Linked DNA regions of Homo sapiens: region 2 is linked to region 1. The links are contacts of gene promoters, found by promoter capture Hi-C in blood cells and fetal thymus (Javierre and others, 2016). All regions are on one chromosome and are shown on one strand. Each heading gives the region's core, a stretch centred on a gene start or on the middle of the fragment in contact. The rest is flanking DNA. Distances are from core to core; before and after follow the strand shown.

What was found. Contacts are between HindIII fragments. The CHiCAGO score rates a contact against its expected background, and 5 or more counts as called.
Region 2: a fragment that was not itself captured here is called in contact with the fragment with the promoter of COL25A1 in region 1 in 1 of 17 cell types (M2 macrophages); the score reaches 6.9 in M2 macrophages.

What each region holds. Positions count from the first base shown.
Region 1 is chr4:109,300,704-109,304,696 of GRCh38, forward strand. COL25A1 (collagen type XXV alpha 1 chain) reads right to left here and starts at 1,955. Exons shown (of 38, transcript NM_198721.4): 1 at 1,466-1,955; 2 at 1,020-1,372. The coding sequence starts at 1,316. It overlaps COL25A1-DT (COL25A1 divergent transcript), which reads left to right and starts at 2,332. Exons shown (of 3, transcript NR_160939.1): 1 at 2,332-2,624. RefSeq lists an enhancer at 2,027-2,809. The HindIII fragment of the contact is 6,447 bases long and covers 1-2,213 here.
Region 2 is chr4:108,678,700-108,682,692 of GRCh38, forward strand. No RefSeq gene overlaps it. Among named protein-coding and RNA genes, the nearest start is that of OSTC, 30 kb to the left of the region's middle. The HindIII fragment of the contact is 3,149 bases long and covers 620-3,768 here.

The DNA of each region.
Region 1 (3,993 bases), core at 705-3,204:
GGAGTCTTTAGGGACTCTGGCCATACGCCTGATTTACCGGCATTTCATAACCTGCATAACTAACATTTACATATGTACTTGGACTCTAGTCAAGAAAGTAACCATGCCTAAGTCCTAAAAAAAGAAAATGACCACTGATAGGGTATCAAGATTGCTGGACTTGTATAACATCTTTCTCCATTCTTCTCTACCACCACTCTCTCCCTCAGCTCAAGCATATGCAGTCAATGTAAAAACCTAGCACTAAAATGTTGCAGTATTAGGTAAGCTGTGGCTTACCAATAACAGCCAATATTTTATACATGAAGGTCAACTGCTTTATTTATCATGCTAGGCTGCAACTACTGCCAAATAGGCTCCCGGCTAGGGTAAGGTTCCAGAAAACCCCCTTACTCTAGTCTAAAGGTACCCTTACACATAACATAGATTCCTCTCAACTCTCAATTCCAAGGGCTCTGCATTCATAAATACCCCGGCACTGCATCCTTTACCAAAAATAAAGCTACTTTAAAAAAAAAAAGTTTAAACTTTTAATATGAAAAGATTCAACGTGTGAAATTATTGATTTTAAATTATATATGACATTATTTTACATTTAAGAGTGATTACCTTTTTTATATATTAATAACATCTATGACCCTAACCATCTTACAACATGTAAAAGATTTAACAGATGCTATCTCTGCAAGAAATATTCTCTCCACAATTGGGTTTGACTTAGGACAACTAAAAAGAGATAAAATGCCCTTTCCGAACCCTTTTAGACCTTCCTATGTGTTTAACACGCAAACATTAAGAGAGAGTGAGGGAAGATTAGAGATAGGGATGGGGACATCAAGGGATGTGCACATATAAATATATGCTACAGTGAGCATAGATCCTTGGCCAACACATGCACGCGCGCGCACACACACAGCCACACCAAGTATGGGTACAGTAAGGGTAGCGGCTAGTCATGCACACAGAGTCACGCTTGTACAAGATGTTACCCACGTGCAAAATACCCCAGCCTCTCACACCTGAGCCAGAAGTCGCTCCACTTTCTCTTGCACCATAGTCTTGAGGTGATCCAGGGTATCAGGCAGCAGATGAATGGAAGGGGCCCCTTTGGCGGATTCGAGAGCGGCGATCCTCGCCTGGAGGTCGTTGGTTTTCACACCCAGGTACAGGCAAGACACCACGGCCACCACTGACAGGAGGGCCGCCAGGACGGCACACGGGGGCATGGTCCGGGCACAATGCTGTTCGGCAGGGGTCGGGTCCTCGGATCTGGGCTCCCGGCCCCCTCCTTTCCCTGCGTGCTTCTTCAGCAGCATCGTGGCGGGGTCGGCCGTCTCGGCTTCGCTTCCCACCCTCTACACCTCAAATAATCCTAAAAGGAAAGAAAAAGGTCGATTCCTCCAAAGTTCAGTCCCTGTGGCTGCACAACTAGTTGGTGGAGTCAAGCCCACGAGCGGATACGGACCCCTGCCTTGCTCAGCGTCCAGACCCGCAGGCGTGCACCATCCCCGCTTTCTTCTCTCCTCCCAGCTGGAAGTGAAAAGCACCCTCCGTCCGGGGACTGGGTGGCGGTGGGGTAAAAAGCAAGACGAAACCCACCCAGACAGCTCTTCCGACTCCCAGAGGACCGACACCTCTTTCGAGGGCCCCAACAGTGGCCGCTCAGGGTCCGAGGGCAACGGCCGAGGCGCCACGCGGGGCCGCGGCTCGCCCTGGCCACGGAGGACCGGACCTGTTGCGCCTCTGTGAGTTTGCCTTATTTCTACCTACTCGGTGTCTTTCGGCACGCCGACCTGTTTCCCACCTGCATTCAGTTCAAGGCAAAAAGGCTGTGAGAGCACGCTACAGCGCAGCGCGAAAGGGGCGACTAAGGTGGAGAAGAGAGAGGAAAACGAAATAAACCCAAGGAACCAATGCTACTCGCGAAGCCGAAGTCGCGGCTGCCCGAAGGATCTCCGCAGCCCCGCGTGCGCGATCCTTAAATACCCTTCGCGATGCTCGCGTGAGTGTGTGTGTGAGTGTGTGAGTGCGCGCGCGCTCCGAGCACGACGTCCCTCCCCCGACCCCCTCCCGGCGCCCGGCGTCCGGCCTGCCGCTCCCGCTGCTGCGCGCCCCCCTTCCGAAGGCAAAGCAGGAGCCCGCCTTATTATCATAATGTATTCACCTTGGCCCAGCCCGCGGGCCGGCCCGGGGAACCCCCAAGGGAGGCGGGAAGCTTGGGTGGGAGCGGGGCAGGAGGTCTGTTATTAGCATAATGTATGCAAATAGCTGGAGCGGCCACCGTGATTGGAGAGGAGCCTGGCGACCCCTCCCCCTGCGCGGAGTAACTTCAGCATCTCCGAGGGCCACCTCTCTGGCCTGGGCCGGGGCCGAAGCGGGGTCGGCTGCGCAAGAGGCGGCAACTTTGGCTTATACTGACTCAGCCCAGCGCCCCCTTTTTATCCCACATAAAAATGGAGAAATGGCCTCCGGGAGGAAGATGTGAAGCGGCACGCTCTATCTCTACTGATCTTCACTCAAAAGCAGCCGCAGGAGCTGTTGCTATCTCGCTGTGGTGCAGCGCTTTTCCCTCCTCCCTCACTTTCCCACATGCCCAGAGGCAAAGTGTCTGGCCGACGTCTGAGGTACATTTCCCCACTTCCCTTCTCTTCCCACTGCAGCCCTCAGATTGTCCAACGAGGGGAAGTTTTCCTTCCCCTCCCCCAGTTTCCTTGTCTTGACGGCACTGAGTCTCCTCCCAGCTCTGTATTCCTAGTCTGTACTAGGGTGCTAATGTGTTTTCCTGATTCCCTGTTTTGCGGGATTGGAAAAGGGAGTGTTGAGGTATACACATTTCTCAGGATTTAGGAAAGGAATGAAGAATGAAGTCAGTTTTTCCTTTTACCTGACTCTTAATGCTGTTCTCTCTGGATCAAATTACAAGGTCTCTAATGGGATTTTGGAAAGTTGGTAACAAGTAGCATTTGACATCTAATTGACTTTGGGGAAAACAGAAATCCCACCTCTTATTCCAAAGAGTTCCTTCTTATCTCCCTATAAAAAAAAAAACCATATATTTTTCCTATTCTCCTTAATTAAGCTAACCTGAAGTCGTTGCTTACTATTGTAAACAGTCAACAAAATACTTCACTAAGTTGGTCTTTCACATGTGTAAACGGATATTGCTAGGTGTGAAGCAAGGTAAGGAAATAACAGCATTAGAGGAAGAAAGAGACTAACATTGGAGGAAAACTCAATGAATTTGGCTATAAAGTCAAAACCATAATTCATTTGTATTACACAGTGGTTCTCAAAGGATGGTCCTAGACCAATAACATCAGCATCACCTGAGAACTTGGACATTAAAATTCTAGGTTCCTACCACAGATCTGAATCAGAAACTGCTACTACCACTACTGAAATAATAATTTTAAAAAAAACAGCAATCTGTGTTTTAACAAGCCCTCCAAATGATTTTGATATATACTACTAAAGTTTGAGAACCACTGGTATAATACTTTCCAAAATATTTTCAAATACTTTTTGTATTTGAACCTCATAACCCTGCGATGTGAGGATTTACTGTTCCTCTTTTAAATATAAACAACGTTTTTAAATAAATTTTAAAACAGATAAATTTCAAGTCACATTTAATTGTGATTAAACATGTTTCCAATAACAGGACCCAAATAATGGGTACAAATATTTTAATGTACAAACTCTTTCTGTAACCTCTAGCTGTTCCTTAGTCTCATTTGCAGGCTTTTCCTCTTTCATTTCTCTGAAAGTTGGTGCTCCTTGGGTCTCTGTCTATTCCATCTTCTCTGTATACTCTCTCCAGTAGAGTTCCCATTACACTGATGAGTCATAAATTCATATCAAAAGCCCAAACCTCTCTCCTGAACCTCAGATCCATATAGCCAGTTGCCTCTTTGTCATCTCCGTTTGGATGTCTCACTCTCATTTCCAATGTAACCTGCAGCTTACCTCCAAATTCTGTCTGCTTCCTCTGTT
Region 2 (3,993 bases), core at 944-3,443, 620 kb before region 1:
AAAGCTAGTTTTTCTTTTGAAGGTGTAAGCTTTTTACTTACTTGTCTCCAAAATCTAACTCTTTATGTGCCTGTATGTTGCAGTGGAAAAAGTGAGCTCATGATCATTTTGCTTATTTACAATGGATAAATGAGATCCAAATACACAGAATCAAGGGAAGGAGTTGCTTCTTCTAAGAGTGATGCTTAATCTTTTGGGTCATGGATGAATTGAAGATTTGATTAAAGTTACAATAAAAAGAGAAATAATCAAAGCACGTACATTCTGTATCACGAACGGTGCCAAACTCTTTATATATATTAGCTTCTTTCAGCTGTATCATAACACTGAGAGGTGGATGCTATTATTTCCTTGTTACCCCTCTACCACACACACACACACTCTCTCTCTCACACACACACACACGCTCGCACACACAGAGTTTTCCCTGTTATTTCAGGGAGCTCATGAATGTCCTAAGGTACATTATCCGGAGACACAGCTTAAGAGCCCCTATCAGGTTGAAAAAAAATGACAGAAGAAAAAAATTTTTAAAGCAATGGATTATGGAAAAGGACTCAGATTGTTAATTCAATTAAGTTGTAGTTTGTCATTTTACATTCTTTTGTTTCTCCTATAAAGCTTGATGTCATGTAATTTTTCTTTTCTTTTTTTTTTTGAGACAGTCTTGCTCTGTCTCTCAGGCTGGAGTGCAATGGCACAATCTTGGCTCACTGCAGCCTTGACCTCCGAGCCCAAGCAATCCTTCTGCCTCAGCCTCCCGAGTAGCTGGGACTAAAGTCATGTGCCACCACACCTGGCTAGTTTTTAAATTTTGTTTGTTTGTTTTGTTTTGTAGAGATGAGGTCTCACTATATTGCTCAGGCTGGTCTTGAACTCCTGGGCTCAAGCAATCCTCTCATCTCAGCCTCCCAAAGTGTGGGATTATAGGTGTGAGCCACAGCACATGGCCTCCTTTTACATACATTTTACTTTATAATATTTAATATACTCAAACATATATGAAGCAGTCATACATTATAAAGCATAATAAAATGCATAAAGTCCTGTGAACCTATAACCCAATATAAGAATTAAAATATTGCCAATACTCTTAATACTATCTTTGTATTCTATCCTTATCCACTTCCCTCCCTTCCTTCTAGAAGCATCTACTGCCCTGAATTGGTGTTTATCACATCTTTGCTTTTTTATCTTTGTATTTCAATGCATATAAAAGCACTTCTTTGCTTTTTAAAGAATAGTGTTAACACATATATATGAATACCTAAATATCATTTTGTTTTGCTTGACACATCAATTGAGTTATTGCTTGACACATCAATAATTTAAAGTTGTGGGCCAGGCACGGTGCCTCACGCCTGTAATCTCAGTACTGTGGAAGGCCGAGGCGGGTGGATCACCTGTGGTCAGGAGTTCGAGACCAGCCTGGCCAACACGGTGAAACCCCATCTCTACTAAAAACACAAAAATTAGCCGAGCATGGTGGTGTGTGCCTGTAGTCCCAGCTACTCGGGAGGCTGAGGCAGGGGAATCGCTTGAACTCGGGAGGCGGAGCTTGTAGTGAGCCGAGATCGTACCACTGCACTCTCAGCCTGGGTGACAGAGCGAGACTCCGTCTCAAAAAAGAAAAATAATAATAATAATAATAATAAAGTTGTGTGTTGTATCTTCTACCATGATTGTAATTTTTAAATATATTGTCAGTTTTACAAAATCTGATTGTCATATCTTTCTGGTGAATTCAAGTTTTCATCATTGTGTAGTGACTCTCCTCATAGCATAGTAATTTTTTGTCTCAAAGTTGATGGACTCTCATGTTCATATAGCTGACTCAACCCTTTGCAGATGTTGTTTTGCCATGTATTGTTTTCTATAACTTTCTTTGAAACTTTTTTCGTTCTTATATTTTAGGGGTATCACTTATGAATATCATATAGATTTATTTTTGTTTTATTCTGTCAATCTTGTCTTTTAATGAGTGAGTTCAGTCTACTTTCAGGAATTATGATTACAGATGCTCCTCAATTTACGATGGAGTCATGTCCGAATAAACCCATTACTAGTTGGAAATATAGAAAGTTAAAAATGCATTTAATATACTTAATCTATTGAACATCATAGTTTAACCTAGTCTAACTTAAATATGATCGGAACACTTACATAGCCCCTAGTTAGGAAAAGTCATCTAACACAAAGTTTATCTTATAATAAAGTGTTGAATATCTCACGTAATTTATTGAAAATGCTACTGAAAATGAAAAACAGAATGGTTGTATGGGTACTAGAAGTATGATTTCTACTGAATGTCTATCACTTTCACACTTTCACACTGTCATAAAGTTGTCATAAATTTAACTAATGTAAGTCGGGGACTGTCTGTATTATATATTTGGACTTTTCTATATCTCCTCTTCACTTTATTCTATTTGTCTAACTTTTCAAGGTTTATTTCCCCTTCTAATTATTTTTGAGTTGATAGGAATTTTTAAAAACATCTATAAATGGCAGATTGTCATTTCCAAAAGTGACTGCAGCAGTAACTCCTAACTCATATGTTTTATACAAAGTGACCTTGCTGCTCCTTATTAAGAGAAGATGATTTCTCTTGTTCGTGGAATGTGGCCAGCCTTGTCATCGCTTTTCCTGGTTAAAGATGGCAAAAGTGACTGCCAGTGCTGGGCATAGTTTTTAAACAGCTTGGCAGCTTCTGCTTCCTGCGTCTGAGAATGCTGGTTCTTGGGATGCACCCTCTTGGAACCCAGCTGCAGGATCATGAGCACCCCAAAACACATGGAAAAACCACATGTCGCCAATCCTGTCAACATCAGCTGAGCTCGGAGCTGGCTGCTACAATCAACTGCCAGTCCTGCAAAGGAGCCTTCATGGACATTAGCCCAGCTGCCATCTGACTACAACTGTGTGAGATACCCCAAGGGAGAACTACTCAGCTGAGTCCAGTCAGCCTGCAGGACCTTGGGAAATAGGAATAAACTGTTTTCAGCCACTAAATGTTCGGCTTGCTTTTAATGAGCAATCAAGAACTGGGATGAATGTGTGGCTTTAGGACCAAACAGTGGATTGAAACTTCCAGGGTCTTGAAGAGATGAAAAATAAAAGCCAGAAAGGCCTGGAGAAGACAATGAAAGTGGAGCTGTTGGCCGGGCACGGTGGCTCACGCCTGTAATCCCAGCTCTTTGGGAGGCCGAGGCAGGCGGATAGAGGTCAGGAGATCGAGACCATCCTGGCTAACACGGTGAAACCCCGTCTCTACTAAAAATACAAAAAATTAGCTGGGCACGGTGGCGGACGCCTGTAGTCCCGGCTACTTGGGAGGCTGAGGCAGGAGAATGGCGTGAACCTGGGAGGCGGAGCTTGCAGTGAGCCGAGATCGCGCCACTGCACTCCAGCCTGGGCGACAGAGCGAGACTCCGTCTCAAAAAAAAAAAAAAAGAAAGTGGAGCTGTTGATGCTTCAAGACAGTGAGGTCAATGACCTTAGAGGCTGAAGAGAAGGGACCTTTGTTAGGTAAAGGCGAAATTTGCTAATGCTCTAACCATGTGAGGCAGGGGTGGTGGGAGGGCATAGAAAGGGCACCTAATGAACTCATTGATCCAGCTAGGGAGGAAGTAGAAAGTGCCAAGTCAACTGTCTTGTACTGTATATTGTGAAATATAAGAAGAGACAGATGAACTAAGGTTTGTTCTGTTTCTAAGCTGAATTTAGAGGAAACAGAGCCCAGAACAATCTTTCCAGGCAGCAAATGAAAGCTTGTGTTTTTAAAACAGCTTATCCAAGAAATGCTACTTATTTATTATTATTATTTTTTTTTTTTTTTTTTTTTTTGAGATGGAGTCTCGCTCTGTTACCCAGGCTGGAGTGCAGTGGTGTGATCTCGGCTTACTGCAACCTCCGCCTCCCGGGTTCAAGTGATTCTCCTACCTCAGCCTCCCAAGTAGCTGAGATTACAGGCACACACCACAAGGCCCGGCT